Linked DNA regions of Homo sapiens: regions 2 and 3 are each linked to region 1. Evidence: promoter capture Hi-C in 16 types of primary human blood cells and fetal thymus (Javierre and others, 2016). All regions are on one chromosome and are shown on one strand. The core of a region is centred on a gene start or on the middle of the fragment in contact, and the rest is flanking DNA. Distances in the headings are between cores, read along the strand shown.

Region 1 (3,030 bases), core at 11-2,510:
AAGACAGGATCCAGGAATGGTGCACACACCCAGCCAAAGGCCACCTTCCCTCAGGCACCCAAGCCAAGAGTGGCATCCCCAGGTCCTGTTATACGTCAAAGGCTGCAGCCGTGTGGGCCCCAAAGCAATAGCACAGCTTGCTCCCCTGACCAACCAACTCCTTCTGAAAAGAAAATCGACCTTCTCTGATGGAGCCGAAACCCAATGAATCAATGAAATTCAACAGCAGCAGCAATCACTACCTCTCCAATTGCGGACCTCTCAGGATGCCTGGCCAGGCTTGAAAGCCCTAGAGGAGTAAGGAGTTCGGATTTCTGATTCAGTGAGTCTGGGGAAACTCTGAGGAGGGTCACAAGGGCAAACCTCCCCGGCCTCTCCTGCTTGGCCCCAGCCCTAGGACGTGCTGCGGTAAGGGCTTTGCTCCCCCCGCCCTACACACACACACACACACACACACACACACAGACACACACACACCACCCCCCCCCCCCCGGGACACGGAGGGTGGGAAGGAAGGAAATGGAGGCCGCTCATCAAAGCGCCCGAAATCAGCGCACCCGCGTGTGTCCTGCGTCGCCCCCCAGGCCACCCCAGGACTAAGCCCTGCCCTCTCACCGGCGCGTCCCAGCCACGCCTTCCCTCCAGCGTTGCTCCGGCACCCTCGCCTAACCTCTGCACGTCTCGGATTCCCAGCTTTCTCCTAAATCGCGTCCCTCCAAAAGTCGCCCCAGCTCCCCCTTCTGCAGCTGTCTACACCTCCCCCACTCATTAGCAGCTCTTAACCCCCGACGGCCCTGCTCCTGCACTTCCCTCTCCAGCAGGCCCCGGACCCCGGAAAACTGCCCCGCTCCCACAGCGCCGCCCCCATGGGCCCCCGCCCCTTCCCCGAGCCGACCCCACTCGCCCTCGTCCTCCCCAAGATGTCTTCTCCAGGCGCCCCCCGGGGCCCCGAGCACTCGCCCCCTCCCACAGAGACAGGAAGTTCCGCGCGGCCCGACCCGCTTCCCTCAGGGCGCGGAGCTCGGCGCGGCGGCCCTGACGGGGCGCGGGCCCGGCCGCGGACCAGCGCCCCCGCGTCCCGCCCGCGGCGCCCCAACCGTCGCGGCGACCCCTGACCTCGGCGGCCACTCACCTCCCAATCCGTCGCACACTCCGTTCAGGCTGCCACGGCGTCTCCAGACCCAGCTCCGGCCGGGCTCCCGCTACCGCTTTTGCTCCGGCAGCACTGCCCAGCCCTGCCCAGACCCCTGCGGCCGCTTCTGCCGCCAGCCGCGACCGCACCGCCCCCGCCGCTCCCGCTGGGCTCTGTCCATTGGCTACCGGACACCGAGCCCCGCCCCACAGCCTCCCCGGCGCCCCCGATTGGGCCAGATGAGTAGAGAGGCGGCTCACCCCGCGTGAGGACGAGGGAAAGCCCCAGGACGCGCATTGGTGACTTCTCCTGTCAATCAAACGGGGAGTGCCTATTTAATGGGCTGCGAGGGTGGCGCAGATTACTCTCCCAAAGCCGCTCGCTGGTGGTGGTCCTTGAGACGCGCTTCCCGGGGCTGGAGTTTTGCGGTTTCGTCGGCATCCAGGGGTAAGAGGGCGCGGCAGGGCAGCACCGCACCTGACCGGAAGTTCAGGGAAGGTAATCCTACAGTCTTTCAGAAAGTTTCCTCTCCCAAGGGACTCAAAGAAGCTAATGTCGTTAGGAGCTCCTCCGACTTGCGCCAAAAGCGTCATTCCACGTGGACCCGCTTAGTTTAAACGGGGGGTTGGGGGGGCGTATGTTGCTGCTCTCTCTAATAAAATATATTTGGATGGCAAGGCACCAGGCAATGCACACGCATTCTTTCCAATTCTCACAATCACCTTGCATGATAGGGTATTAGCCCCGTTCTGCAGAGGGAAATACTCTTGAAGGAAAATGGAGAGCACTTCCTGAGCACTGTCCTACGCGCTGTCCAAGCACTGCTTCATGTCATCCAGGTGGAGAGGATGGTGAGAGGAACCCCAGGTGAGGGGTGAGCCAGGTAACTTGCTGGGGGTGATGTGGAGTAAAGAGAGTAAATGGCAGAGCCAGGATTAGAAACCCAGGTCAGCCCAACCCTTGAGAATAATAATGATGACTGTGTAGCACTATGGGAAAATGCTTAAACTAAAACGTTAAAAGAAAAAGCCAGATAGAGCCAGGCATGGTGACATGCACCTGGAATCCCAGCTTCTTGGGACGCCGAGGCAGGAGAATCGCTTCAGCCCAGGAGTTTGAGGCCAACCTGGGCCACATAGCAAGACCCAGTTCTCTAAAAAGTAAAATAAAAGAAAATAATAATAAAAGAAAAAGCTAGATACAAAATGGTAGAAACTGTAGAATTGCTGCTACATATAGATAGGTATGAGAAAAGAGTCCACAAAGAAATCTAGTGGTTGTTTACTTTCTAGACTGCTCTGTGGCATTGTCCTTATGACAATAATTGAGAAAGAAACAAAAGAACCGGCTAGGCACGGTGGCTCACGCCTGGAATCCCAGTACTCTGGGAGGCCGAGGCGGGCAGATCACAAGGTCAGGAGTTTGAGACCAGCCTGGCCAACACAGTGAAAGCCTGTCTCTGCTAAAAATACAAAAAATTAGCTGGGTGTGGTGGCATGCACCTGTAATCCCAGCTACTTGGGAGTCTGAGGCAGGAGAATCACTTGAACCTGGGAGGCGGAGGTTGCAGTGAGCCAAGATCACGCCACTGTACTCCAGCCCTGGCGACAGTGCGAGACTCCATCTCAAAAAAAAAAAAAAAAAACCAACACACAGTGCCAGGACAAACCACTGCCAAGAAGTCTCTCCTCATTCTCCAGGACTGAGCCAACAGGGACCTCTTTGCCACCCACAATACCTGTGGACCATTTGTATAGATAGAACTCAGCCATCAGCTCTCAGCACTTTCATATCTGGGTAAGTTCCGCTTACATCGCAATTCCATGCCCTATAAAAATATAGAGCCTTGTCGGGCGCTGTGGCTCACGCCTGTAATCCTAGCACTTTGGGAGGCCGAG
Region 2 (3,394 bases), core at 338-2,837, 200 kb before region 1:
ACAAAATAATTTCTTGTAGATACATCTCTATGCAATCAGGCTTCTGAGAGCATTTAAAATGGGATAGTGACTCATCAGCTAATAGACTCTTTAGCACTACTAGTCAGTCAAATACCACTCTTCTATTTAAAATCAAATATCTGCTACAAGCAGGACACCAAAGGGGTAAAAAGGTGTACAAAACATTGTCCTTGCTCTCAGATTTCTAAAAATGCAATAATGACTTAATTTTTCATAAAGAAAACTATGCCTATATAGCAAGAATAGCAGTTTGCATCATATTTTAGTGAGACAGCACAACATTTCAGGGCCCTGAAAAATGATCTATCTAACTTACAAGGATTTCTAAGTTATCATCCACTTTATAAAAACATGTAAAATACCATGAATTCCTGGCAAAAGAGGCATTGTATAAATTCCTAGTAATATAAATAAATTTCTGCATAGTAATAGGGAAAGACAACAGAATTTCTTTCTGTTTTTTGAAATGGAGTCTTGCTCTGTCGCCCAGGCTGGAGTGCAGTGGTGCAATCTTGGCTCACTGCAACCTCCACCCACGAGGTTCAAGCAATTCTCCTGCCTCAGCCTCCCGAGTAGCTGGGATTACAGGCACCTGCCACCATATCCAGCTAATTTTTCTATTTTTAGTAGAGACGAGGTTTCACCATGTTGGCCAGGCTGGTCTCGAACTCCTGACCTCAGGCGATCTGCCTGCCTCTGCCTCAAAGAGTCCTGGGATTACAGGCATGAGCCACCGCGCCCGGTGCAGAATTTCTTATTAGGAAAAAGTAATCTTGCTTTTGCTGTTTCTTTTCTTTAATGAGTCAAGCAAGATTTCTTTGGTTTTCACATGGCAGTTTGTTTTCCTTACTCTTCCTACAGAACAGGTTATGGCTATTTTATTCCTTAACAAATAAATACTACTTTTTCTTTTGGAGGAAAACAATAGCTCTGTTTAAAATCATGAATACATATAATTACAGCAACAGATTCTTCTGGAGAAGATGCATGGGGATGAAAAGGTTCTATTAGAAAGATAAGAGATGGAAAAGTTTTCCTTCCTAGGTAATCTGACATGGACTGGGTCACTCACTAAAAGCATGCACTTTGATGCTTACGAGAACATCTCTCTGGAAGCACCAACAGTTAAGAAGTCAGAACACCGCGTTTCTCAGAACTTCAGGAGTGCTTACGGGTACTGGCTCAAGGGAGGACTGCAGGACACAGATCAAACAAGCGGAGCAGCTCAAGGCAGCTCTGCCTCTTCCTTCCTTCCTACCAAGTGGGCACACAGAGAGCCTCTGAGGACGGGCTGGGAAACTGCTAGAAGGAGACCAGGATGCTGCATGGGCTGTTTAGTTTCACACTCTGACAGTACAAGAACAACACTGTTCTGACAGTTTACTGAGCCGAAATAACTTTATTTACAGCCATTAAACAAACTAACTTGCAACATAACACTCATGTATTAAGGATAAAACACCTGTACTTTCTACGGGTTTGAGTGGCAGTGGTGGTCATTAAGGCACAGTGGTGTGGTTGTTCTGAACAAGGCCATGAAAGTTGCCAAACTGGCTTCTCAAATCAAATTCATAAATCTTCCGATCTGCATCTTTGTTTTTGTGATGTATTAAACACTCCTAATGAAAGATACAAGTGAAGTCTGGTTGTTGCTTCCTGTTTTCAGGAAGATTAGCATGTTAATATTAGAAGTAACAACCAGACTTCACTCCATCCAGCTTACCTGCAGCTTCTCCATCCAGCTTACTTGCAGGAAGGAAGCTGATCAGGGCCCGATTTTACACACGCTCTGGGAAAACCTCAAGCATGAGTAATCTGGACAGAGCCTACTCCCAAATACCAAGAGAAGCCATCGAAACACTCAAATCTAACCTTTCCCTTTGCCAGGGTCAAAAACTTAGCTTAGTAAGAGAAATTAAAGTCTGTGACAAGTCAACGTAAATTTTTGTACACAAAGCATTTCAAACCATATTCGACCTAAATACAGTTCAGTGCTGCCCCCTATGTTCTGTGAATTAAATGACAAGGAGAAACAACTATCAACTTCAAATTATTTGGGTTTACCTTATAAACTCCATCTTAGCGAACCGTCAGTATGAACAGTAAGACAGTACGAAAAGTAGTTGCATTTACTGAGCACCTACTATGTGCCAGGTACTGTTTGATGCACTTCAATGAGCATTTAAGCTATTAAACTAATCCTTAAAACCACCTCATAAAATAGGTGTTATTTTCTTCATCATACAGTCTATAGTAACTCAAGCTAAAACAGATAAAATACACATGAAAGTAAGAGAAAACACCATTAAAAAACACACACATAAAAAATAGGGATCCAGGTTACTTTTCCTTTCTGTGTAGCATGCACCCTCCGCCCTTCTCTCCTGATCTTTGGTACAGTCACGGTTTCCAGAAGGCCATCTTTCTCTTCTGATTTCAACACAAATGAAAACCTCTCAAGAGCCTTACAAAAGTCTACGGAAAACCGATCTCTTCACTGGCCTCCTGGCTTCCAGTCTCCTCCCCTCTTCCTGGCCTGGGTATCACTACCGAACTCATTCTCCCGAGACGCCCCTTCATGACAGCACTGCTGAAGGAGCTGTTTCTCTTGGGTAAGTGGACAACCACAGCCTGACTTTAAGGTGCTCCACATTATCGTTCCAACTCCTCCACTTCAGGCAGGCCCCCGACACACACGATCATTCCACCTTCTTCATTCTCTGAAACTCTTCCTTCTCCCTCTCCAAGATCCAGGCTCAGAACCTCTGGAGACACGACCAGAGCCATAGTCTTCCATCATGTATTTAGAATTTAGTCACAGAGTCCAACAGGGCTTCAGATTATAAATACTTTTTTCATTATGCAGATATAATTCACATACCGTAAAACTCACCCTGTTAAAGTGCATGATTCAGTGGTTTCAGCACATTCACAAAGCTGTGCCATCATCACCACTAACTCCAGAACACTTTCAGCAGTCCAAAAAGCAGGCCTGGACCATTAGCAGCCACTCTCCATTCTCTCCTCACCCCAGGCCCTGGCAACCAGTAAGTTGCTTTCTGTCTCTACGGATTTGCCTATTCTGGACATTGCATATAGACAGAATCATATCATGTGATCTTTTATGACTGGCTTCTTTCTTAGCATAAACTTTTCAAGGTTTATCCATGTTGTGGCCAATATCAGGACTACATTCCTTTTTGTGGCTGAGTAATAGTCCATTGTATGGACATACCACATTTTCTTTCTCATTTATCAGTTGGTAGACATTTAGCTTATTTCTACTTTTTGGCTATTAGGATTAACGCCACTATGAACATTCATGCACGAGTTTGTGTGTGGTTGCACAGATGTAAGTTTTAATTTCTCTTGA
Region 3 (3,343 bases), core at 547-3,046, 220 kb before region 1:
ACGGCCACACTCCTCACCTCGGACACTCACTTCCATACTGCCTGTCCAGGCCCAGCCGCAGGACCCCCTCTGCTGGTGGCTCTGCCTTCTCTGCTCCCCTCCGGTTCTCTGTTCCCCTAGTAGTCCTGAAGTAAGTTGTCCCTCCCCCAAGCTGCCAGTCCCACTCCCGTCCCCCTCTTTCCTCACCAACAGATTCTGATTTTGTTCAAGGCAGCAATGGGACCTGCTGAAAACACACCCCGTTGCCACTCCCTTGCAACTAGGGGGGCCTGGGACGCAGTTCTGGCTGGGGAGAAAAAGGCACAAGTCCCTCGCTGGGAGTCAGCCCTTTCTCCTCTCCTTGTTCTTGCGCAGAGGCCTGGAAGGGAGGATGCCATCTGTGACAAGCAGGAGGGGAGGGCTGGTGTGGCAAGGACAGTGCGGTTAAGGGCAAGCCAGCTCAAGTCCTGCCAGCTTGGATGGTACACCTGGGACTTCCTACCTGCGACAATAACCCGTCTGCTCCGGCCCCCACAGGGACCAGCCTCTGCATACACTCTTCAGTGGTCCGCCTGTGAAGCCAATTTGCTGAAAGACGACTCCCAAAATGTCTGGTGCTTCCAACGTATCTGTCAGTCTTCACCTCTATTTAAAGACACCGGTAGTAGATGAAATGGGTTTCCTAGCTCTCTGGAAGGTATCTGCCGAGTTCTCCAGTTTCCATTTTGCCATCTTAATAGCATTTTAAGGAATGCTCAAATGTCTCTATCTATCTCAGATTCCTGATTCTGAGACCCTGAGGACACTGAGTGTCAAAGATGGGAGGACTGAGGGGAAAAGGGGAGGACTAAGAGACGGGGTAGGGGAGATCGAGAGGCAGGTGGGGAGACTGAGGGGCGGGGGGAAGGGGGATGAGGAGCCTGAGGGGCAGGGGGGAAACCGAGGGGCAGTGGAGAGGGGCTGGGGGGAGACTGAGGGGCAGGGGGGAGACCGAGGGGAAGGGGAGGGGCAGTGGGGAGGGGCATGGAAGGCACATGACAGGCACCTTCAGCTAAGGCTCTGGGAGTGGGGAGTCAATCCCCTCCCTTCCTCTTTTTTTTTTTTCTTTTGAGACAGGGTCTTGCTCTGTCATCCAGGCTGCAGTGCAGTGTCCAGGTCGTAGCTCATTGCAGCCTTGACCTCCTGGGCTCAAGGGATCCTCCTGCTGCAGCTTCCTGAGTAGCTGGAATTACAGGCACATGCCACTGCACCCGGCTGAATTTTTTCTTTTTTGGTAGAGGCGGGGTCTTGCTGTGTTGTCCAGCCTGGTTTCAAACTCCTGGGCTCAGGCAATCCTCCCGCCCCAGCCTCCTAAGGTGCTAGGATTACAGGTGTGAGCCGCCTCACCTGGCCCAACATCCCCATTTTCAACCGGGACACCCCGCCTTGCTCCTGTGCTACAAACAACATCCCAAATTCATCACAACTGCACAGCAGGCCCCGCACGCACGCTAAATCCACGTCCACCTACAGTCACCACAATTCAAACGTTCATCAATGTCACACCAAAAACCTCGACTTACGATGACTTATTACGAAAGCTTTCAGGGAAAAATGTAGGCAATGCCATCTGCTGCAAGTGTTTATTCTATTTAGAAGTCTACAAATTTGAGCTTTTAAGAAAGATTCACAAAATATTCATTCAAAACCACATTTTTGGCTTATCAAATTTCAAATATATTTTACTGTGCTGAACAATATATTCTAATGCTGTCTAAAACACAGCTAAATTATTTTTCTTTATTTGTTTATACACATTCGGTAATTTCTGAAAAGCAAGATTTAAAAATATTTATTAACAAAACTACCCAATTACAATGACTGTTCTCCCATACACGCAACTATTTTCTGTAGCTGTATCTTCTTACCTCATTCCACTTTAACTCTGTATACCGTATTGATTTGTGATGAGATGATTTATTATGAGAACTCTTAGGGAGTTCTCATCTTCCATTTCTCATCAATTCAAACAGCAACACCTTTCACAAGATAACATTAATTCCCTTGGCAGGGCAGAAGCTTAAGTTTGTTAAAAGCACTCACTGAAAAACATTTTTAAATTTATAGGTCATATAAAATAATTTACAAAGAGACAGATGACTTCAAATATTATTTGGCAGTCACCTTACTATGTAGAAACATAAATGAAGCAATCTGTCACACGAGACACCAGTCACTTTTGGTCTTTTGAAGGAAGTGTGTGTGGTGAGTGTTGTTTCTGCAGGCCCATCCAGCATCCGCTGATTCTGGCAGCCCTGAGCCCATGTGTCACATGGAGACCTCTCCTCCTCCCCCACATGAAGCCTCCTGGTTCAGGAGCAGGAGGAGCCGAGGTCTCCAGGCCCTCAGTGTTGAAATCAAAGGTTCCAAGAAAATAAAGCAAGGATATACACAGAGACGCCAAAGGAGGGTGTGACAGGAAGGAACGTGAAACAGAAATCACAGGAAAGCTCCTACATCAGAACTCAGAATTTCTCAAAAGAAATATTAAAAATCAGAAACATATACCATATGAAAAAGTAGCAAAACAATCTGCAAAACTATCTGGACTTCACTGCCGCCTGAGATGTGGTTACTTGTTCATTTAAAGAGGAATTTCTCCAGGAAATACACATCATGACTTCAGTATTAAGAACCGTAGCGATCCTGAAGAGAGAACCAAAATGGAAGTTCACGACCATTCAGCAGCGATCCCTGACTCCCACGCCCTGAATATTCAGCATCACCCAAATTGACACTGCAGCCCATGTCAGGCATGTGACATGGACGCTGCACCCCGAGGGTGTGCTCATCTGGAAGCAGCCATTGCTGCAGCTTCAAGGCTGAGGGTAGGTGTGGGCTTCAGAACCCAACAGGATTCACATCCTGCCTCTGGCATCCACGGCCACAGTCCTGGGATCAGGAGGCAGGGAGCAAAGTGGGCGGGAGGATGCTCAGTGGGCCAGAGGCAACTTGCTGAGCCCTCTGGGAAGCAAGTGGGAAACGGAAGACAAAGGAACACATTTGGTGTTTGAAGCCCTGAAATTTTGGTTCAGCTGGTCATCTTGCAGAAGTGACCTAACCTTCTGTGCCTCAATTCCTTCACCTGTAAAATGGGGATATAAAAGGGAGCCATCTCTAAAATGGGGATGACCATCTATAAAATAGGGATGTTACCTATTTGGACACTGATGTGGGCTTAGCTGACCTAAGGGACATGAAAGAGCTCTATGCATTTTAACTTCAGTGCCACATGAAAGGGAAGACTGTGCTATTCACAGCATGAAAACGGCTACATCCAGAGTCCTGGGGCTGAGGGAACTCTCCGGAATGGGTGCACCTCCAC

What was found. Contacts are between HindIII fragments. The CHiCAGO score rates a contact against its expected background, and 5 or more counts as called.
Region 2: a contact is called between a fragment that was not itself captured here and the fragment with the promoter of PACSIN2 in region 1, in 1 of 17 cell types (neutrophils). The highest score is 6.6, in neutrophils.
Region 3: a contact is called between a fragment that was not itself captured here and the fragment with the promoter of PACSIN2 in region 1, in 1 of 17 cell types (neutrophils). The highest score is 5.9, in neutrophils.

The regions. Positions count from the first base shown.
Region 1 is chr22:43,013,889-43,016,918 of GRCh38, forward strand. It overlaps PACSIN2 (protein kinase C and casein kinase substrate in neurons 2), which reads right to left and starts at 1,261. Exons shown (of 11, transcript NM_001184970.3): 1 at 1,133-1,261. RefSeq lists enhancers at 863-1,566, 1,549-1,748 and silencers at 989-1,058, 1,179-1,228, 1,239-1,428. The HindIII fragment of the contact is 24,608 bases long and covers 1-3,030 here.
Region 2 is chr22:42,818,347-42,821,740 of GRCh38, forward strand. The region is part of intron 9 of ARFGAP3 (ARF GTPase activating protein 3); the gene reads right to left. Among named protein-coding and RNA genes, the nearest start is that of ARFGAP3, 37 kb to the right of the region's middle. The HindIII fragment of the contact is 5,036 bases long and covers 1-3,394 here.
Region 3 is chr22:42,794,942-42,798,284 of GRCh38, forward strand. It overlaps ARFGAP3 (ARF GTPase activating protein 3), which reads right to left. Exons shown (of 16, transcript NM_014570.5): 16 at 1,561-2,664. The coding sequence ends at 2,647. Among named protein-coding and RNA genes, the nearest start is that of ARFGAP3, 61 kb to the right of the region's middle. The HindIII fragment of the contact is 478 bases long and covers 1,558-2,035 here.